Regions from separate parts of the Homo sapiens genome. Here region 2 is linked to region 1. Evidence: promoter capture Hi-C in human tissues and cell types (Jung and others, 2019). All regions are on one chromosome and are shown on one strand. Each heading gives the region's core, a stretch centred on a gene start or on the middle of the fragment in contact. The rest is flanking DNA. Distances are from core to core; before and after follow the strand shown. Region 1 holds the start of OTOR (otoraplin). Region 2 overlaps KIF16B (kinesin family member 16B).

The links. Contacts are between HindIII fragments. The study calls those that stand out against the background at their distance.
Region 2: a fragment that was not itself captured here is called in contact with the fragment with the promoter of OTOR in region 1 in 1 of the 25 tissues and cell types used here (mesendoderm cells).

The regions. Positions count from the first base shown.
Region 1 is chr20:16,746,462-16,750,206 of GRCh38, reverse strand. OTOR (otoraplin) reads right to left here and starts at 1,849. Exons shown (of 4, transcript NM_020157.4): 1 at 1,691-1,849; 2 at 1,201-1,340; 3 at 197-304. The coding sequence starts at 1,805. The HindIII fragment of the contact is 9,309 bases long and covers 1-3,745 here.
Region 2 is chr20:16,333,557-16,337,301 of GRCh38, reverse strand. KIF16B (kinesin family member 16B) reads left to right here. Exons shown (of 26, transcript NM_024704.5): 24 at 1,287-1,376. Among named protein-coding and RNA genes, the nearest start is that of KIF16B, 240 kb to the left of the region's middle. The HindIII fragment of the contact is 3,874 bases long and covers 13-3,745 here.

The sequences.
Region 1 (3,745 bases), core at 600-3,099:
TAGAGAAAGTTTACTCATCTTTCAACTTTGACAGTAGTTATAAATGGTCCCCCAAACCTCATTATCTCAGAAAAGTCGCCACTGAAAGTTGGAGGCTTTGTTCTATACAACTTGTAAGTTGCATGATGCATTTTTAACACCGGCCTACATTGCCCCAAGATCTGAGTCCTTGTCTAGTCACTTTTGAGATGCTTACCGTGGTGGGAACTTCCTTGGTAGCTTCCTGGTACACACGCTGTTCCTTGACCAAGTTCCTGGGGAAATAACCCACGACTCCCATCTCGTCCTGGCCATCACCATAAACCTAAGTGCCCAGAAGAATAGCAATCAGGAAAAAGCTGATGCTGAGTGTCTTCTGAGAAACTCGCAGGCGTCCTCTTTGCTGATAGTGAGAATCATAGCTGCCAATACCTCCCTTTCACTCCGGGGTCCAGGGGGCGCTGCGGCAAATCCGAAGTTTACTTGGAGCACTAAGTTAACCCGCAGGAATTGTGCATCTACTGTTTAGTGGCCCAGTCTTATTTCGCTACTTTAGCATGACTTTATTTTACGCAATCTTGTGAGTTGCCTGAAATCTTTTTTGAACCCATAAATAAATATATAAAGACAGTACATTTTTTTAAAGTACTGTAGACACTTATTTTAAATGATGCAAATTTCTCAGTTTTCAACAATTCAAATGAACAGACTTAAATGGCTTTAAATTTAATCCTTCATTAATTTAGAACTTACCTTTAGGGTTGCAGATGAGGACAGAAAATCATCCCTGCTTCATCCCTCCCCAGGGACCGCCCCTGTATATTTTAACTGAAGAACGCTGATTCTTTCGAATTAATTAGGGTGCAAAGTTTCCTAAAAGAATATTGATACTTAGACTCACTGCCAACACACATGCCTTCTACTTGGCAAATCTTCTCAGACGTTTTCGGATAAGATTCAAATTCTTTGGGATGTTTAAGCCCCCATGTATTTGACTCTTTTTTTACCAAAATATCACATTAACCTACATTTGGTTTTGTTACGAAATTGATCTTTCTTTCTTTAAAATGCAATAGCAAATATACCTGAATTTTTGCATTTCCATCTACAATCACTACATGGTTCTTAACAACTAGTATTAAGCATTAAAATAGGTTGAAGGTAGGTAATCAAGGAAAGGTTAAGAGCAATATTCGTCAATAGGTGTTTAAATTATCTTACACTGCCAGCCCAAAATTCTCCAGCTCCATTTTCTTTTACCAGCTTTGAGTACACATAGATCTGCTGCCCTTTTTTAACGTTAATGAATCTACAGTCCGGGGCATTATAATCTTCTTGAGCACTAGCCAGAGAAATAGTATCTGGAAGAAAAAAAATTTAAATGATTACATTTTAGGCTCCTGAATTTTATAACAGTAAAAGGCAATGTATATTAGAAAAACTAGAAAATCAGAGTGACTGATAATTCCCAGTTCATAGCTGGTGTCTATCCAAGAGAAAGAAGACAGCCAAGATATTAAAGCTGCAACAAAACTCAGCCAAGTGAATTCTCCGTAGTAAGATACCAAACATGCAGACCAGAAGAAACAAAGCTGATAACATACACATTGGAGAAGATTCACTTCAAAGTATAATTCGATTTTATGCTATTAGTGGATATATTTTCAATTATGTAATAGAAAGATAATGAAAAGCATAAAAAAGTCCTTACAGACACACTCATCATCTGCACAGAGCTTCTTGGAAGCTAGACGGTCCATAAATATTCCATGCACAGCACATACAGCCACAAGACCCGGGAGGAAAAGTAACAATATTCTTGCCATCTTCCTTTTTTCTGTTTTAACTTGAACTCTGACTGGAAGCGGGGACTGACTTCAGTGGTTCCTGCCTTTTATGTGAAAGCCAGAGCTCTGGGTAAATACCCTGGCCAATTAGAAGGGCCTACCACCCCTCCGTTTTCATAACAGGCTGCTCGGCTTCAGGGGCTATTTAGCGTCTGATTTTCCAAACAGAGTCAAACTCTGTGTCTTTCTATACACAGATAATATCCAAAATGGTCCACTATTGTTAAAGCCGCTTTAGCAGTGGTCTATTGTATCAATCAGTAGGGCTTTGCTGAGAGGACTATGAGAATTTCAAACCATTTTTAGTTTTAATTCACCCCTAATTTTCCTTCAGCTTATGAGCAAAGACATACTAGTTGTAGGAATTTGTTGAAAATGTGAGATCTATAGCACAAATAATTTGATTTAAACAAATTCAATTAATAAATCTGGATTTACGTAATAGATAAATGAAAGATTCTTATGCTTACAAATCTTTCATGATAGGATTCTTAGAAGGCATGCCTGTCCCAGGCTAGAGATGAATTCTAACATACTAATTGATGCCCCATTTAGACCCTACCAGTGGGGAAAGAGATGGGTGGGTTGGGAAAAATAGGTCAATCTTTCCCCTACCTCTTCTCTCTAAGACTTTTGCAATTCAGTCTCAAATGCTCAAGGGTGACAGGTCAAAGAGAAGAGAGTGAAGTTACAAGTTTATGTTACCTGGAACTTCCTGCTTCTGAGCATGTTTCCCATGGGGAGAGGAGCACTCCTAGAGGCACCAAAGTGGAACCGCCAGTCCCTAGCTCCGTCTATTCAGCAAATATTTACTGAGCACTTACTGTGCCAGGTATAGTTCTGGGCACTAAAGATATAGCAGTAAATTTAAAAAAAATATTTTGGCCCCAAGTGTTGCTTTCTATTAGAAGAGACAGACAGTAAGTTACTGCTTTTTATAGGGTGTTTGAGGCTGGCATCTCTCCCATAAGGTGGCCCTTCCCCTGTTCTTATCCATTGCTTCTAGAATAGAGATCCTCTCAGGATGCCTTCTCCACCTTGGTTGATGATGTGACTTCGGAGCAGTGCCTTCTCCCCCAACCCCAAAGTCGTAACCTCATAAAATGAGGGACAAGAATTTAACTTACTAAATAATTTTGTGCAATACAATTTCCCAAGGGATAAATGGGTAAGGCAAAATATAATAAAAAGGTTTTTTGTTTTGGGTATATGTGTGTGTGTGATAGAGTTGTATTGGTTTGAGTGCATCTGTGTGTGTATGTAAAAGAGTTTTGGTGTGGGTATGGGTGTGGGTATGTGTGGCTGTGTGTGAGTGTGTGTGTGTGGCTGTGTGTGTATGTGTGTGTGACTTTCAAGGGAGGATCTTTTATATAGCTGGTCCTGATTGGAAAGTCTGTTTTATTCATACCTTCATTATAGACAAGGAAACTGAGGCACAGCAAATGCCAGAGTGGTCTTTTTGTTTTTTGTTGCTTTTTTTTTTTTTTTTTTTTTCCGAGATGGAGTATTGCTCTGTCACCCAGGATGGAGTGCACTGGTGCAATCTCGGCTCACTGCACCCTCTGTCTCCAGGGTTCAAGCAATTCTGCTGCCTCAGCCTCCCAAGTAGCTGGGCTGGCAGGTGTGCACCACCATGCCCAGCTAATTTTTGTATTTTTAGTAGAGACGGGGTTTCACCATATTGGCCAGCCTGGTCTCAAACTCCTGACCTCAAGTGATCCGCCCTCCTCAGCCTCCCAGAATGCTGGGATTACAGGCATGAGCCACCGCACCTGTCCTAAAGTGGTCATTTTGAACCATCCTATCTAAAGGTTACCAGAGGGATCATGGTTCAATGCTATTTCAATTCATTGTTGTCAACTTGGAATTGACAAATTAGAATAAATCATTTATTTCCTGTTTCACATCAAGGAAAGATT
Region 2 (3,745 bases), core at 700-3,199, 410 kb after region 1:
CTTTCTACTGATGGCCCTATGATTTACCTGCGGGAGAATCAGGCTGAATTATTGTGCTTGAGAAGAGCATTTCCCTTATGTGCAAGTTAAGTTCCCATAAAGGAGCATGGCCCGTGCAAAGGCCCTGAGGTGGCAGAGAATATGCGCATTCAGGGATGCAGCAGGAGTGAAGACACCTAGCAGGAGAGGCCTGCAGACAGGCTGCTGTGGGCAGGTTAAAAATGTAGGTCTTTTTCTATGAGCAGCATGAAGCTCGCCTTAAGGAGGGTCACCTCCCAAATCAAATGGTTAGATTTGAGTTCTAAAAGATCTGTTTTCAGTCATGCAGAAAAGAGATTGGAGAGGGCAGATGTGGGGTGGACAGTTGGGAGATGCTCTTGCAGAGTCCACAGGAGACCCAAAGGCCTAAAGTCAAATGGTGCTGATGGCAAAGGATGGAAGGATAAAGTTCTAAGAAATGTTTAGAAGGCAAAAGGAGCAAGACTTAGCACTTGCTTGAATGCAGGGATAGGAAGAGAAGGGAGGTCAGGGATGACTTCAGCATCTCTGGCTGGCATTGCTGGGTAGGTGGTGGTAGAATGCTTTGAAATGGAGAATACCAGAGCTGGGACTGGAGGGAATATGTTGAGTATGGTTTTGGACAAATTGAATTGGAGGTTCCTGGGTGACATGGGAAGAAAGATGTGCCAAGTTGGGTATGTGGGTCTAGAGCGCAGAAGAAAGGTGGGAAGTGGAGAAAGGAATTGGAGATTCATTGGCCTGTGCTTTAGGTGTGATTGTAAAGGCTGATGTGGTCTACCTGCCTCTTCTTGTCACTGTGACCTTTCATATGTGAGCTGATGTGCAACAGAGTTTCCACTCCAGCTAGCCTATTAAAGGCTGAATTGATTATTCTCCCTCTGAAAAAAAGCAAAATATACTGTTGTGTTATTATACTAACAATGACTGAGAGGCAGTGAGATTTTTTTCCTCTTCCACCTCCTCTTCTTTAAAAGTGTTTCTATAAAAAGGGACACTTTTTATAACCAATTAAGAGATGACCATCTGCCCTTCACTTTACATAGACAAGCTGCCTGTAACAAGATCTGAGAGCCAAAGCTGCATGTTTAAGTAAAGTACATTTATTATTTCTAAGTTGTATTTATGCAGCTAGATTAATGTTTTCAGTTCTAGAGAAATTTTACATGCTAATCACTTTTTTTAAATTTAATTTTTAAATTCTTTTGAAAAATTTTAGTGACTTTTGCTTCTTAATGCTTATTCATTTTGGTTTTCCTGGTTAATAGATTACTGTCCTAGATGAGACATGGACTGTATTCAGGCGTTACAGTCGTTTTCGAGAAATGCATAAAACATTGAAGTTAAAGTATGCAGAGGTAAGTTATGAAATTATTATCTCCGATTAAGAGCATTCATTTTATAAAGTAAATGAGCTGATTGCATTAGCAATGTTATCTCTCTCTCTGTCTCTCTCTTTCAGATACTAGCTTATTAGTGTCACTAAGTCTTACTTCAATAACCCATTTATCAAAGATAACTTTAAATTTTTTCTTCTTTGTTCCATTTCTGTTCTACACAATTTAAACATTTTCTTAACAGAAGATTTTGAAAGTGATATTACAATGACAGTAAGTGAACTCCATCCTTCTCATAAATTTTATGGTAAATTTTAAATACATATTTTAATCAATTTATAACTTCTCAATTATGAGACCTATTAAAATTAAAATAACTTCTTCATATAGATTTACACTTTTTTCTTTAAAAAAGAAAGACTACATTCATGCTTAGTCTTATACTTAATGAGAAGTCAAGTCATAACAGTTATTTTGCCATTGAACGTAGAGGGAAAGGTAGATAGAAAATGCAGAATTATCTAGAGACCAGAAAGCATTTCATGCATCAGATCAAATATCCAGAGGGTATTAATACATTAGTCGTCTTTTCCTTTTTGAACAAACACAGGTTTCTCAAGTAATTTTAAGCAAAGTATTCCTAGAAGGAATGTGTGTTTTCCAAGTAATGATGATGATGAAGATGATTTTACTTCAACTAAAGGAAGCATTATCTAGGTCCAGCTTTCTGGGAATTTTGTGTTGAACTGACTGCAGATCAATCAACAGTCATTGTCTAACTAGCCTGCTTTCACCAATTATTGGTTTTGAGCACTATTTTTATGGTTTTTTATGACATTTTAAAATATAGTTAGAAATTTGGTTCACTAATTTGGTTCACATTAAATAATGTTTCCTTAACATTCTCATGGCTTCCACCCTTTTTAAAATCTGATATAAAATACAAAGAGAAATAGCTTTTTGTAAATAAAATAGTTCCCTGGTGTATAGAAGAATCTTGAGCTCAGGTAGAATTAAGCTGTGTTAGTTTGTTTGCATTGCTATAAAGGATTACCAGAGACTGGGTAATTTATGAAGAAAAGAGGTTTATTTGACTTACAGTTCTACAGGCTGTACATGAAGCACTTCTGGTGAGGGCCTCAGGAAGCTTCCAATCATGGTGGAATATGAAGGGGACCCAGTGTGTCACATGGGGAGACAGGGAGCAAGAGAGAAAGGAGGGGGTCCTAGACTCTTTTTCACAATCAGATCTCAAGGTACTCATTACCATGGGATACCATCAAGCTGTTTGTGAGGAATCTGCCCTCAAGATCCAACACCTCCTACTAGGCCCCACCTCCAACATTGGGGATCATATTTCAACATGAGATTTGGAAGGAACACACATCCAAACCATATCTTAAGCTATCTCTGAAATTCTGTTACTAAGCTGTCACACTCTCTAGTCTTTTATTAAAAATTTAGGAAACTTCAAGTGGGAATTTGTTCCCAAGAGGCTTCTTGTAACAGTAATAACATCAAAATCAAGTTATTAAGTTTGTTTCTGCAGTTTAATTTTCGTGGCTGAAATCAATATTGACAATTAAAAGAAGTATTGTGTACATATGAAATGTACAGAGCAGCTTGTTTTTAAAGTGAGCTTTGCAGCTCATTAACCACTTGGTTTTAAGTTACTACATCAGTATTTTAATAACGGACGGATTTTGCGTATTTAATTAAACTCACTGAATTCCCAAAGCAATACCTAGCAAAAGCAATTTCCATGAAATAAAAGCACTCAGACTTTATATACACACACACACATTCATTCCAGGATGTATTTATTTTATATTGATTATTTGATTACTTCAACCCATTCTGTGTAGGCACATTTTTCTGGATTCCAGTAAGACTGTGACAGACAAGAACAAAAATTTCTTCTTCTATATATCTTAAATATGGGGCAGACAGTAAACAAGGAGAAAATAATAGCTAGCACTTTAAGAGTAAGCATGCAGTGTTGCAGTTACCATTTAAAGTGAGTTACATGCCTTATATGAAAATTAGCAATAAAGAATGGTGGGGCAGAAGGTGTTGGGCACACTTTAGTACAAGGTTGTTTCAGGGTTGGGCTCCTGACAAGGTGGCATTCTAGTTGATACATTAGCTGAGAGATATTTAAAAGAGTTTTCAGAGCACCAATATACAACTCTAATCTGTGTTTTTAAAGAAAACTCCAGAATGAACATAACAGAAACAATCTTTAAAGATATAATAGAAGAAAACATACCCAAGGTTAAGAATGACATGAACCAGTGAGTCGAAGAAGTTACTTGGTACCAGGCAAAATGAATGAACACAGATTATCACATACATGAGAGTATTTTCCAGAGGAAAAAGGGTGTATTACA